Regions from separate parts of the Homo sapiens genome. Here all the other regions are linked to region 1. The links are contacts of gene promoters, found by promoter capture Hi-C in blood cells and fetal thymus (Javierre and others, 2016). All regions are on one chromosome and are shown on one strand. Each heading gives the region's core, a stretch centred on a gene start or on the middle of the fragment in contact. The rest is flanking DNA. Distances are from core to core; before and after follow the strand shown.

Evidence for each region. Contacts are between HindIII fragments. The CHiCAGO score rates a contact against its expected background, and 5 or more counts as called.
Region 2: a contact is called between a fragment that was not itself captured here and the fragment with the promoter of JMJD1C-AS1 in region 1, in 3 of 17 cell types (M1 macrophages, M2 macrophages and erythroblasts). The highest score is 7.3, in M1 macrophages.
Region 3: a contact is called between a fragment that was not itself captured here and the fragment with the promoter of JMJD1C-AS1 in region 1, in 2 of 17 cell types (M2 macrophages and endothelial precursors). The highest score is 7.1, in M2 macrophages.

Annotation. Positions count from the first base shown.
Region 1 is chr10:63,463,058-63,467,324 of GRCh38, forward strand. JMJD1C-AS1 (JMJD1C antisense RNA 1) reads left to right here and starts at 2,172. Exons shown (of 1, transcript NR_027182.1): 1 at 2,172-3,506. It overlaps JMJD1C (jumonji domain containing 1C), which reads right to left and starts at 2,920. Exons shown (of 26, transcript NM_032776.3): 1 at 2,438-2,920. The coding sequence starts at 2,605. RefSeq lists silencers at 2,033-2,372, 2,913-3,062 and enhancers at 2,152-2,941, 2,563-2,632, 2,713-2,882, 3,333-3,382. The HindIII fragment of the contact is 1,793 bases long and covers 1,363-3,155 here.
Region 2 is chr10:63,343,015-63,347,281 of GRCh38, forward strand. The region is part of intron 2 of JMJD1C (jumonji domain containing 1C); the gene reads right to left. Among named protein-coding and RNA genes, the nearest start is that of MIR1296, 28 kb to the right of the region's middle. The HindIII fragment of the contact is 5,906 bases long and covers 1-4,267 here.
Region 3 is chr10:63,363,967-63,368,233 of GRCh38, forward strand. All of the region lies in intron 2 of JMJD1C (jumonji domain containing 1C), which reads right to left. Among named protein-coding and RNA genes, the nearest start is that of MIR1296, 6.9 kb to the right of the region's middle. RefSeq lists an enhancer at 1,940-2,441. The HindIII fragment of the contact is 731 bases long and covers 1,819-2,549 here.

The DNA of each region.
Region 1 (4,267 bases), core at 922-3,421:
AGGACTTCTAGTAGACTTAACAGGTTTTTAATTATACATATTTGTAGCTTTAAAAAAAAAATCACAAACTAGCCTATTCAACATTTTCCATATACTTTCTTTTTACATATTTATTTATTTATTTAGAGACAGGATCTCACTCTGTCGCCCAGGCTAGAGTGCAGTGGCATAATCTTGGCTCACTGCAGTCTCAACCTCACTGAGCTCAGGTGATCCTCCCACCTCAGCCGCCCCAGTAGATGGAACCACAGGCATTGTACTACTATGCCCGGCTAATTTCTGTATTTTTTGTAGGGACAGGGTTTCGCCATGTTGCCCAGGCTAGTCTCAAAACTCCTGCGCTCAAGTATCTTCCCATCTCAGTCTCCCAAAGTGTTGGGTTTACAGGCGTGAGCCACTGTGCCTAGCCTAATTTCATGTAACTTAAAATCTACTCTGCAGTAATCAAAGTCGAACAGGAATATTACATTATGTTAATGCTAAACTGTTCCAAGTTTCGTTTAAGAAATGTGAATGTAAGAAAATCTGGGAATAAATCTAAAATGGTAGATTCTAGGCTAAAAAAACTAAATTAATATTCAAATTTTCAAATAAAGACAGATTAAAAAAACTCATCAAGGGTTCACATAGGTATGGTTCAACATACATTTTTCTTTTTTTGGTAAAATTTAGATATGGTGAAACGCAAAGATAGTATCAATTCAACGAGTTTTGACAAATATATATATCTGTGTAACCAACAATCAGGATAGGAAACATTTCTATCACCTGAAGAAACTCCTATTCTTTCCAGTCAATCTCTACCATCCATAGATAATTTATTTTTTAATATCCAGCTTAATACCTTACTAACATATGCAAACTTAACTCTTTAATCACTTAAATTCCCAACTAAGAGAGCAATTAAGTTATTTATATATACAAATTTTTTTTTTCCTTTTTTACAGATGAGGGGGTCTCACCTATGTTGCCCAGGCTGGACTCTTAATAAGTCCTGGGCTCTAGCAATCCTCTTACCTCAGCCTTTTACACAAACAAAAATAGTTACTGAATTGAACTGCCATAATTTTTAGAACCACTAACATCACCAATACTTTTTAAGGAAGATTATACATTTCTATACGAAAATAACCAGCCAAAACCTTCAAAACTACCTCTATTTTCTGTTAGAAATACCTATCAGCAAAACACACCTATTTTGCGATATCGAGTCAATATTAATACATGCCGCATTAACCATATCATTGACTACAGTGAGGAAAACCCGAGTTTACAAAAACACACTCAGAAACTATTAAAATAGGTAGGTAAAAAATATTAGGTAGATACCTGTACAAATATTACAATGAATTTGGAATTGTAAGCTTTCATGCACACAAAGGGAAAAAAATTTCCTAAATTTGAAGTTTTCATTGAAAAAGTAAATGGCTCAGGGCATTACAAATAAATTTCACAGATTACGTATTCATAAATCAACCTTTGGAAGTCTAGTCCATGTCTTGTCTCTACTCCGCCCCTTACCTTCAAGCTGTCCCTCAGTGAGAATGTACTTGGAACACAACAGAGCATATTACAGCTCAATATCATGCACATACCTACGCTACTCAAAGAAAGCACTGGCAGCGTCACATGTAAGAAACCAAAAAAAAAAAAAGATAATCAATTCTGCATGGCATTTAACATTTTAATTGACAACATTTTTCGTCTTATTTAAAATCGTATAAAACCCAGAAACAGCTTGACTCCAAAGAACTATACCTTTCTAACAAGAAAAGCACATTGGGGACAGAAAGAGAGATTACCCTCCATACCAAAATTTTTCACTTTTATCCTTTACGGTTAGAAAGCCAAGCATCTATTAAGGAGAGGATGAATCCGGGCACAGCCACCACCACGGCCTCTGCCTCTAAAACACATAGGAATCCCCGGACTGTGTGGGAAGGTCTCTTTTCTTTTCTCCCTCCCCTTCAGCAACCTTACAGGATAAGTTTTAAGTCTCGAGCTACAGCACTATGAAGACTTTTCCAAGAAAAGAGATACCAGGGAAGCTGGCCGCCTGTCGCCATGAGTGGTCCGCCCCCTACCCCCACCTGCCCGCGCGGCGCCGGACTCGCGGCTCCGCCTTTCGGGGAGGTCTCCGTGGCCGCCCAGGCGCCACAGCGGGGAGCCGCGGTCGACCCCTCCGGGATGGGGGCCAGGGCAGCCTCCGCGGCTATCCCGGGAGTCCTGCTCCGACACCACCTCCACAGGGGAAGCCGCTCGGAGAGACGCAGGGACCCAGGCAAGGGATGCGGGCAAACGCGCCAAGGGTTCAGCAGAGGGGCGTGACCGCCAGTTGGCCGGGCTGAGCGAGGCGCCAGAGGGAAGCCTGCAAGGTACGTCTGCGAGAGCCGGGTGCGGGCGCGGCAGGGGAAAAGGGGGGCGCTGACTCTCTTACCGCCAGGTCCGGATTGCGGCTGTCCCTGTGTGACACGGCTCGGATGACCCCCGCTCGCCAGCTTCGCCAGCCGCGTCCGCTCTCCCAGCGCTCCGAACGTGCCTCGTCGCCGACCGCCACACACAGGAACCGCTTACCCACCAGCTCTGCCCGCGTCTCTACCGCCATAGCTGTCGCTGCCGAAGCGGCCGCTGCCTCCTCCAGTGCGAGGGAACCGATGAAACCTCACTCCTACCGGCCGCTCATGCTGAGGAGAGCGGACCGGGACACAGCAGCGGACCCGAAAGAGCGCAGACTCGGGACGAACCGGCCGCTCTGCCCCGGACACAGCGACCTCGGGCCCTCCCCGCAAACACTCCTTTGGACTCCCAGATTCGCAGCCTTGTGCTGCAGCGCCACACAAGAAAACTGAAACAAAACCCAACGCGGCCGTCGAAGACCCCGAGGCAGCCCAGCCGCCGCCACCGCGCCGCGGCCAGTACTGCTCCGTCTCCCTCCCCGGGCAGCGGCGGCGCGCAGCGCGTCTCCTTCCGCCGGCGCGGGCGGGGCAGCAGCCGCGGGAGGGTCGGCGGAACCACCGCAGACGGAAAGTAGTGCCCGGCCCTGCGGAGGCGGCAGCGGCCACTGGGTCCGTCCAGATCCAGAGGCGGCGGCGGCGGCGGCAGCGGGAGACGAAAAAATGAAGAGGGCCGCGGGAAAGTAGGCGACAGCTATTCAAAGCTTTTGGGGGTCTACCTTTGTATTCGTTGCTCCCTCAGAGGTGGAGGTGAGGGGAAAGTGAAGTGTAGTGGTTCCACTCTGATCACAAAATAAACTCCTGGGTTGACGCCTCACCCGCGGTTTGATGTTCAGAGCACACAGCGCCCGCCGCCTGAGTTAGCCTGAATTAGCAGTCCCGCAGTAACAGCAGCAGAGCAGGACAACACTTCTACTGAAAACTAAGCCCCAAAGTCACAGCAGAACCAACCGTTCATGACTTCAAGGGAAAACGAGGGGGAAAATGTGATCCTTTCATTCTTCTCATTTGTGGTGATACTAATTACATGTTTAAGCTATTCACAGATTTAAATTCGTCACTGCTTTATTATAAGAACAGCAAATGCTCCGTGGCGGGCCCTTGTCAACGTCCTGAAATTTCACAAACCGTGTCTGCGACAGTCTTAGTACTTTTAGTACTGGTACACAGCTCAAACACACTGGTCAGATAATAAAAGCAGAGAAAATCCCCAGATTCAGTTATTAGAAAATACCATGGAAAGAAAAGGATTTTAGCCAATCACAATTCAAGAAAAAAAATATTTATTTCCCATCCAATTACAATCGGACTCCCTAACCCACACAAAGATCTCTAACTTGGAACAATCACTCTTCTTTGATCAACTTATTTGTTATAAATCAAACCTCCCTACAAATGTCAGTGAGCAGTTCGATTTCAGGCACCCTTTATACTGCTTTTTTATAGGTAGTCCAATATTCTAAATTTCAGTTTCTTGAGATTTTCCTGAACCTCTATTTAAAAAAAAAAAGTTAACAGAGTTTACAGTAGTAATCTGAATGTTTAAAATAACTATAAGGCTTTTATCTGTTTTCTCTAGAACACTCAAGCTGGGCAATTTGAAGTGGAGAAACACAACCACTGCTAATAGGTTAGAAACCAAAATTATAAGGAAGATGGATTTTAATAATCATGGTCAAATTTTGCCAAAGACCAAACATAGAACTGTAATAAATAGGCTGGGCACGGTGCCTCACGCCTGTAATCCCTGCACTTTAGGAGGCAGATCACCTGAGGTCGGGAGTTCGAGACCAGCCTGGCCAACATGATGAAAC
Region 2 (4,267 bases), core at 1,191-3,690, 120 kb before region 1:
ACACTTCCAGCCCCAAGCATTGTGGATAAGGATACTCAACCTGCATTAAAAAAATAACTGATTTTGGCCAGGCACAGTGGCTCGCGTCTGCAATCCCAGAACTTTGGGAGGCCAAGATAGGCAGACCGCTTGAGCTCAGGAATTAAAGACCAGCCTGGACAACATGGCGAAACCCTGTCTCTACAAAAAATTTTTTTAAAAATTGGCTGGGCATGGTGGCACACACCTGTAGTCCCAGCTCCTCGGGAGGCTGAGGCAGGAGAATTGCTTGAGCCCAGAAAGTGGAGGACACAGTGAGCCAAGATCATACCATTACATTTCAGCCTGGGTGACAAGAGTGAAACTCCATCTCAAAAAAAAAACAAAAAAAAAAACAGATTTTAATGTATGCTAACACATGGACTAATGAAGTACATATAGCCTAGGTTGGCTGGTGACTTCATTTGTTTTTCTGGTATCATTAATAAAGCACATACACATACAGACAATATATACATAAAAAGATTTTGTTAATATATATACCTTACATCGCTGCTTCTACTCTAATCATCTTAGCTTGAATGTAAAATATGAAACTAAAGTACAGTCATATGCTGAATAATGACATTTCAGTCAACAACGGACCACATATGAAGGCAGTGCCATAAAATTACAATGGAGCTGAAAAATTCCTATCTGGTGACACTGCACAGCCATTATAACACTGTACTGCAATTATTTTTAAAAAAAATTAATTTAGTGGGCCAGGCGTAATGGCTCACAACTATAATCCCATAACTTTGGGAGGCTGAGGTGGGTAGATCACTGGAGCTCAGCAGTTCAAGACCGGCCTGGGTAATGTGGCAAAACCCTATCTCTACAAAAATTACAAAAATTAGCCAGGTGTGGTGGTGTGTGCCTGTACTCCCAGCTACTTGGGAGGCTGAGGTGGGAGGATCACTTGGGCCTGGGAGGTCAAGCATGCAGTGAGCCAAGACAGCAACACTACACTCCAGCCCGGGCAGCAGATAGAGACCCTGTCTCAAGAAACAAAACCAAACAAAACAAATATAGGATAGCCTAGGTATACAGCATTTATAAAGTCTACGGTAGTGTACAGTAACATTCTAGGCCTTCACATTCTCTTCCCACTCATTCACTGACATGCCTACAGCAACTTCCAGTCTTGCAAGCTCCATTCATGGTAAGTAACCTGTATAGTATTTCCTTTACCTTTTATATCATATTTTTTTGTACCTTTTCTATGTTTAGATACACAAAAACTTACCATTGTGTTACAATTGCCTAAAATATTCAGTACAGTAACATGCTACACAGGTTTGTAGCCTCAGAACAACAGGCCATACCATATAGCCTAAGTATATAGTAGGCAAACCATCTTGGTTTGTGTAAGAACACTCTGTGGTGTTTACACAGCAAAGAAATCACCTAAGGACACATTTCTCAGAATGTATCCCCTCCATTAAGTGATGCATGGCTATTCGTAAAAGAGAACTGAAAAAAACCTTTGTGATCACAGCAATGAGTTCTTAGGTATGACACCAAAATCTGACCCATGAAAGAAATAAAAACATAAACTTCATGATAATTAAGATCTTTTGCTACAGACTGGTAGAAGGCCATGTATCTGAAAGAGGACATACATTCAAAGTTGAAAAGAAACCATTACAACTTAAAAATAAGAAAAACAACAAAAAATGATTTAAACAAGCATGTCTCCAAAAAAAAAATAGACGGTAAAAAAGTTCACCAATAGTATTCAATACCTATTACCACAAGGGGAAAAAAAATTAAATCAATGCTGTACCACTACATATCTAACAGTATGCCTATAAAAAATAAAAGTCAACCCTAGTAATACCAAGTTCTGGTGAGGATGCAGATCAACTGGAACTCTCAAACATTTCAAGTGGGAATTAAACATAGTACAGCTACTCTGGAAAATAGTTTGGCAGCTGCTATTTATAAAATTAAATATATTCTTACCATACAATCCAGCAATACCCCTCCTAGATATCTGCCCAAATAAAATAAAAATGTATGTTCACACAAAAATCTGTATATGTATGTTTTTAGGAGCATGATTCAAAATCACTCAAAAGTAGAATGGGTATCTGTTAGCGGGTGAATGGATAATCTAACTGTGGTATATCCATACAACAGAATACTCATTAATAAAAGGAACAAACTGGCTGGGTGCAGTGGCTAACGCCTGTAATCCCAATACTTTGTGAGGCCGAGGTGGGCGGATCACCTGAGGTCAGGAGTTCAAGACCAGCCTGGCCAACATGGTGAAACCCTGTCTCTACTAAAGATACAAAAATTAGCCGGGCGTGGTGGCAGGCACCTGTAATCCCAGCTACTCGGGAAGCTAAGGAAGGAGAATCGCTTGAACCCAGGAGGCGGGAGGTTGCAGTGAGCCAAGATTGTGCCATTGCACTGCAGCCTGGGGAACAAGAGTGAGACTTTGTCTCAAAAAAAAAAAAAAAAACAAAAAAAAGGAACAAACTACCAATCTATGGAACAGCATAAATGAATCTCAAAATTAATGAATGAAAGAAAGAAGCCAGCTTTGAAAGGTTATATACTTTATCATTACATTTATACAATGATCTGAAAAATGCAGAAACTAGCCAGAGGTTAGGAGTAGGGAGACAACTACAAGGGGGCAGCACAGGAAAATTTTTAAGGTAAGAGAACTATTTTGTATCTTGATTGTGGCAGTGGTTACCTGAGTCTATGAATTTGCCCAAACTCAAAAAATTGTACATGGTAAAATAAATGAATTTTAGTGTACACACATTTTTATAAAACCAGTAATTTTTTTTTCCAGAAATCATACTCAAGTACTAAGTAAAGCACGGTCTTTAACTCAGTACTAATTAAAGGAGACAGGGAAAAAGGTACATACGGAATAAAAGGAAACAGACCCAACTCTTAACCGTGGTTAACTTTAAAAAAAATTAAAGATGATTTATTTTACTCCTTACGACTTTCTGTGTTTTTCACAAATCATGCAGCAGATATTTTTAAATCTTATAATCAGTAAATGGGGTCTCACTATCTTGCCCAGGCTGGAATGCAGTGGTGCAATTATAGAACACTACAGCCTTGAACTCCTGGCCTCAAGAGATTCTCCTAACTTAGTCACCCAAGTAGCTGGGACTACAGCTGTGTGCTACTCTGCCCACTGGGAAATGAATCATTTTTTTAAAGTGTGATTAGATACTACAAGATACAGAGATTTCTCTGAGTAGCTGAGAAGCAACTAAAATAAAGCCATGAAAAGGGGAAACATAAGATAAATGAAGAGGAGGCTCTAAAGCCTATGAGTGACACTAGTTTTGTTAAATCAAAATCTGGCCTGAAACAGCCCTAAAGCATACTTGGGTTCTTATGTATGAACTGCAACCTAACTTATTAGGTAAGCAAATTCTCACTTAGCAATATGCTTCTGTAACAATAGCTAAATCTCAGCCAACCACAGCAGCCATACTTCAACCACTCATGAATAACCAACTGTTCAAACCATGTTCATTTTGCCAAATAAAGCAAATAAACTATAACCAATTCACTTCTGTACCTCATATTTCCATTTTCTATACATCACTTTTCTTTTTCTGTCCGTAAATTCTCTAAGACCATGCAGCAGTACCACAGCCTCTCTGAATCTGCTCTAAGGGCTACCCAATTTGTGAATCATTTTTCCTTGCTCAGTTAAATTGTAAAATTTGTCTGAAAGTTTTTCTTTTAACAGTCTATTGGTCTATCTACTTGGCTACTATTTTTAAGAGACTTATCGTATCATTCAGTGTCATACCATAATTTAGCGCAACTAAAATATCATTTTAAAAGGCAGTTTTAAAGTTCATCTGCTAATGAGTAATACAGTTTTGGGAAAAAGTGAAAGTCCTAAAATTTCAGGACTTAGGTCCCCCTACACCCCCGGCCCTCCATGATACATATTTTCACACCAAAAGTAAAGTTGGCCCCTCAGGGATGACATTTTTAATGAGCTTTTACTATTCTGCAGTATAGAACAAATGAAAAGAATTTTTTTTTTTTTTTTTTTTTGAGACAGAGTCTCACTCTGTCACCCAGGCTGGAGTAGTGTCATGATCTCAGCTCACTGCAACCTCCACCTCCCAAGTTCAAGGAATTCTCCTGTCTCAGCCTCCCAAGTAGCTAAGATTACAGGTACCTGCCACCATGCTTGGCTAATTTTTGTATTTTTGTCAACTCCAACTTTATGCCTCCTTGTAAAAAT
Region 3 (4,267 bases), core at 934-3,433, 99 kb before region 1:
TGCCTCAGCCTCCTGAGTAGCTGGGATTACAGTAATGCGCCACCATTCTTGGCTAATTTTTGTATATATTTTTTTTTACGTAGAGACTGGGTTTCACCATATTAGCCAGGCTGGTCCTCAACTCCTGACCTTAGGTGATCCGCCCACCTTGGCCTCCCAAAGTGCCGGGATTACAGGTGTGAGCCACTGCGCCCAGACTGTCTGGTTAATTTTTAACTTTTATGTACAGATGAGGACTTACTATGTTGCCCAGGCTGGTCTTCAACTTCTGGGCTCAAGCGGTTCTCCCACCTTGGCCTCCCAAAGTGCTGGGATTGGAGTGGGCAAGGGGTCAAAACAAAAACCTAGTGCTGAGATTACAGGCGTGAAGCCTGGCCCAGTTTTCTTTAATCCTGTTAAATTGGTCACTAATTGACACCCACTCCCTACATTCTAAAAATGTATTTCTATCTTGTGACCATTATCTCTTACTGTTCATCCTTTTTTTGTTGTTGCTATCTTGGTGCGATTTTGGAGGAAGCAAAGATAAGCAGGTTTTTTGTTTGTTTTTTGAGACAGGCTCTCACTCTGTTGTCCAGGCTGGATCACAGCTCACTGCAGCCTCAAACTCTTGGGCTCAAGAAATCCTCCCACCTCAGCCTTCTAAGGAGCTGGGACTACAGGAAGGCACCACTACACCTGGCTAATTTTTTGTATTTTTTGTAGAGATGGGGTTTCACCATATTGCTCAGGCTGGTCTCGAACTCTTGGACTCAAGTGATTTGCCTGCCTCAGCTTCCCTAAGTGCTGGGAGTACAGGCCACCTCACACGTGGCCGAGCACATGTTTTACCAGACAAATTTATCCAAGTCTCACCTAGATCAAACAAAGGGATGAATTACAGGATAATGTGCTAGCTGCTCTCAAATCCCACCATACTACAGCTATAGCAACCTACTTAAAATACAAAATTGATGATTTAATCCAGATAATTTTGGTTCCATGGCTTTCCATTCCCTACAGGAGGAATATTTCCAAAATTCTATTGTAACACAAGACCCTTTATGATTTGATCACCGCTTACTCCACTCCATCACAATTATTCTACCTATGCCAGCTTGGCACAAGACCTTGGGATTTCCCAATCAGGACCTGTTTTCTCATACAACGCCTTCCAACCTTTTTGGATCAGAAAATGCCAATTCAGCATTTAAAATCATAGCAAGCCTCATCCTCCTCTGTATCACTTTTCCTTAGCCAAGCCAGGCACTTCCTCTTCATTTGTCCCATTTTTATAAACTTTTATTCTATAACTGAATGTTTCATTTTCCACTTGTACATCTGTCTCCTTACTCTCTATACCTCCTGAACACAAAAATTTTAGTTTATTCTCATTTATATCTCCAAATCTTAAATTGTCTGATCAGAAGTAAACTAAAATAAAAATTAGGTTGTTTTCCTTTTAAGACTTTTCCTGAAACTAGGTTGATCAAAAAATACAAATGTTTTTCCATGATTATTCTCAGTAAGATTCAGTAATTCAGGCCAGGTGCAGTGGCTCAAGCCTGTAATCTCAGCATTTTGGGAGGCTGAGGCAGGTGGATCACGAGGTCAGGAGTTCAAGATTCAATAATTGGCAAGGTATAAGCTCCACTAGAGGAGAAAAAAAAGTATTATGCTAAAGATGGACTATTTGGGTTCCATTTTCACTCTCAGTTGTGCTACTAATTAAAATGAAAATGTAAACAAATCAATTAACATGATTATCCCAGACCTTTCTTTTCTTACTGGAAAAAAGAGGGCATTAAACTGGATGATGACAATAACACCATAACTACAAGCTTTTATAAAAGTCCTTTATATACAGTGTTAATACAGTGAAAGATCAACCTTATTGAAAGAGGTCTGGCTTCTGCCCTCAGCTACTGGGAAACAATCACTAGGCCTCTGGCATGTCTTGGCTGATACGAGTGTTTTTGTTCGTCTGGGGGCTTTGGCCACTGGACTATCTAAAAATGTGATTTACAATGGGAAGTACCCAGAAGAATTCCATAATGAAATGGGAATGGTCTGTGCAGGAAAATGCTACCAAAGGAACATATCATTATAATGAGCACATAGACCCTACTATATAACAGCACACAGTATGGCTTTGGGCCACAAAGTAATAGCTGTGACCTCCAGAGAAAGGAATAACTAAAGGTAATAGTTTGACATTCTGGAAGCAGCAGGAGACTAAAGGTCAGCCATGTGGGTGGTATGTGATCAAATCCCAATACAAACAATGATCACCAAAGGCTTTGCTGAGATTCCCTGTTTGACAATATTCTGTGAGTACTGTCATACACTGTGATTGAAATGAGCTAATGTTGTCTATGATACCACAGAGAGAGGGCAATCAGAAACTCTACATTTGGACTCCTCCTGGATTCTGCACCCTATGTCTCTCTTCCCTTGGCTGATTTTAATGTGTATCATTTCTACGTAACAAACTATAGCCATGAATATAATGAGTTCTGTGAGTTCTTCTAGCAAATTATCAAACCTGAGGTTGGTTTTGGAATCCCTCAAGCTTGCAGCAATGGTATCGGAAGTGGGCACAAGAATGACATTAACTTGCTGAAGCTGACTCACTGAATGAAGAGAAAGAATGAGGGATGACAAACCTTTGTTTCCTGGATGGTTACAAGGCCACTCATGGTATAAAACTATAGCTGTGCTATAATCATTTAATGGAGGTAAACATTACCAGTGGAATTTACAAATAATAGCTCCAACTACAGCTGTATTACAATCAATTAGTAGAAATAAAAGTTACCAGTGGGACTGAGAAATGATGGATCCAACTCCTGGGTGCCTGGGTCACTGGATACATAAGAAAATGTTACATAAACAATAAATAAAGTTACTATATAATCCCTTGATTATTGTTACCTGGAATAGCGAAACAGAAACGCAAATCCTAATGCTGGGCCAAGCCTGGTTTTTGGCCAGATCCAGTTATAGCCAGTAGTCACAGACCCACTGCCATATGTAAAAGTCTTACCAAAATAACAGGCAATAAAGATTCATAAGACAATGGAGAAAAAGAAAGAGGAGATTCAAGAGACTAGTCCCAGCTGGGTGTAAATCTTTAAACAGTTATTGAGAAATGGGATAAAATATTGAAGCCAAAACAAAGGTCACACTGCAGCACTCTCAGAGGTTGAGTGGACCAATGAGCCCCTGCTGGTCTCCTTCCATTAAAGAGCCCTAAACAAATCTGCTTTATTCACCCTAGTTTTTTTTTGTTTTTGTTTTTGTTTTGTTGTTGTTTGTTTTGAGATAGAGTTTCATTCTTATTGCCCAGGCTGGGGTGCAATGGCATATCAGTTCACCGCAACCTCCACCTTCCAGGTTCGAGCAATTCTCCTGCCTCAGCCTCCCGAGTAGCTAGGATTACAGGCATGCGCCACCATGCCTGGCTAATTTTGTACTTTTAGGAGAGATGGGGTTTCTCCATGTTGGTCGGGCTGGTCTCAAACTCTCAACCTCAGGTGATCTGCCAGCCTCGGCCTCCCAAAGTGCTGGGATTACAGGAGTGAGCTACTGTACCCGGCAATTCACCCTAGTTTGAGGAAACTTTAAAAACTGGAAGGCAAAAATGACTAAGAAAAATCTAACTTCAACTTGCCTAAGCCAATGCTTAGATAAGGCCTGAAGAGAAGACCTAGATTCCTTGCTAGTCCCTAGCTGGGGACCCAGAGTCAAATGCTTTTAAATGGATAAAATAGTTAAGCATAGAGATGTTTCCACGAGAGACCCATGCACAGAACTTACAAATCTGTTGGTGAAGTCCTAACAGGAGCTACAGTTATACTGGAAAGACATAACAACACAAGAGTTTATGGATCAAGGTAAAACTCTGGATTAAAATAAGAATGTCTGAATGTACTTTATGTACAGTAGTGTGTCTCCTTCACCTGAATGCATTATGGAGATATTTATTACGTCTGACTGGCGAATGTTTCCCCTACTTAAACAGAATACATATAAATCTTCCTATCAGGCAATATTTATAGGACATGCTAATTGAAAGCCAGTGAAAATGCCTGAGCCCATCCAAATTAATTTCAAATAGTACAGAATAGAAGCTGGGCAAATTCTTTATACAACAGTCCTGTGTGGAGCACAAGACTGGAGCTTATAGGAAAACCATCAGGATTCTGGACCCAAAAATTTCAATTTGAGGGACAACTAGTTTACTATTGGGCATTAACTGACACTGCTTCTCTGAATCTGAAAACCT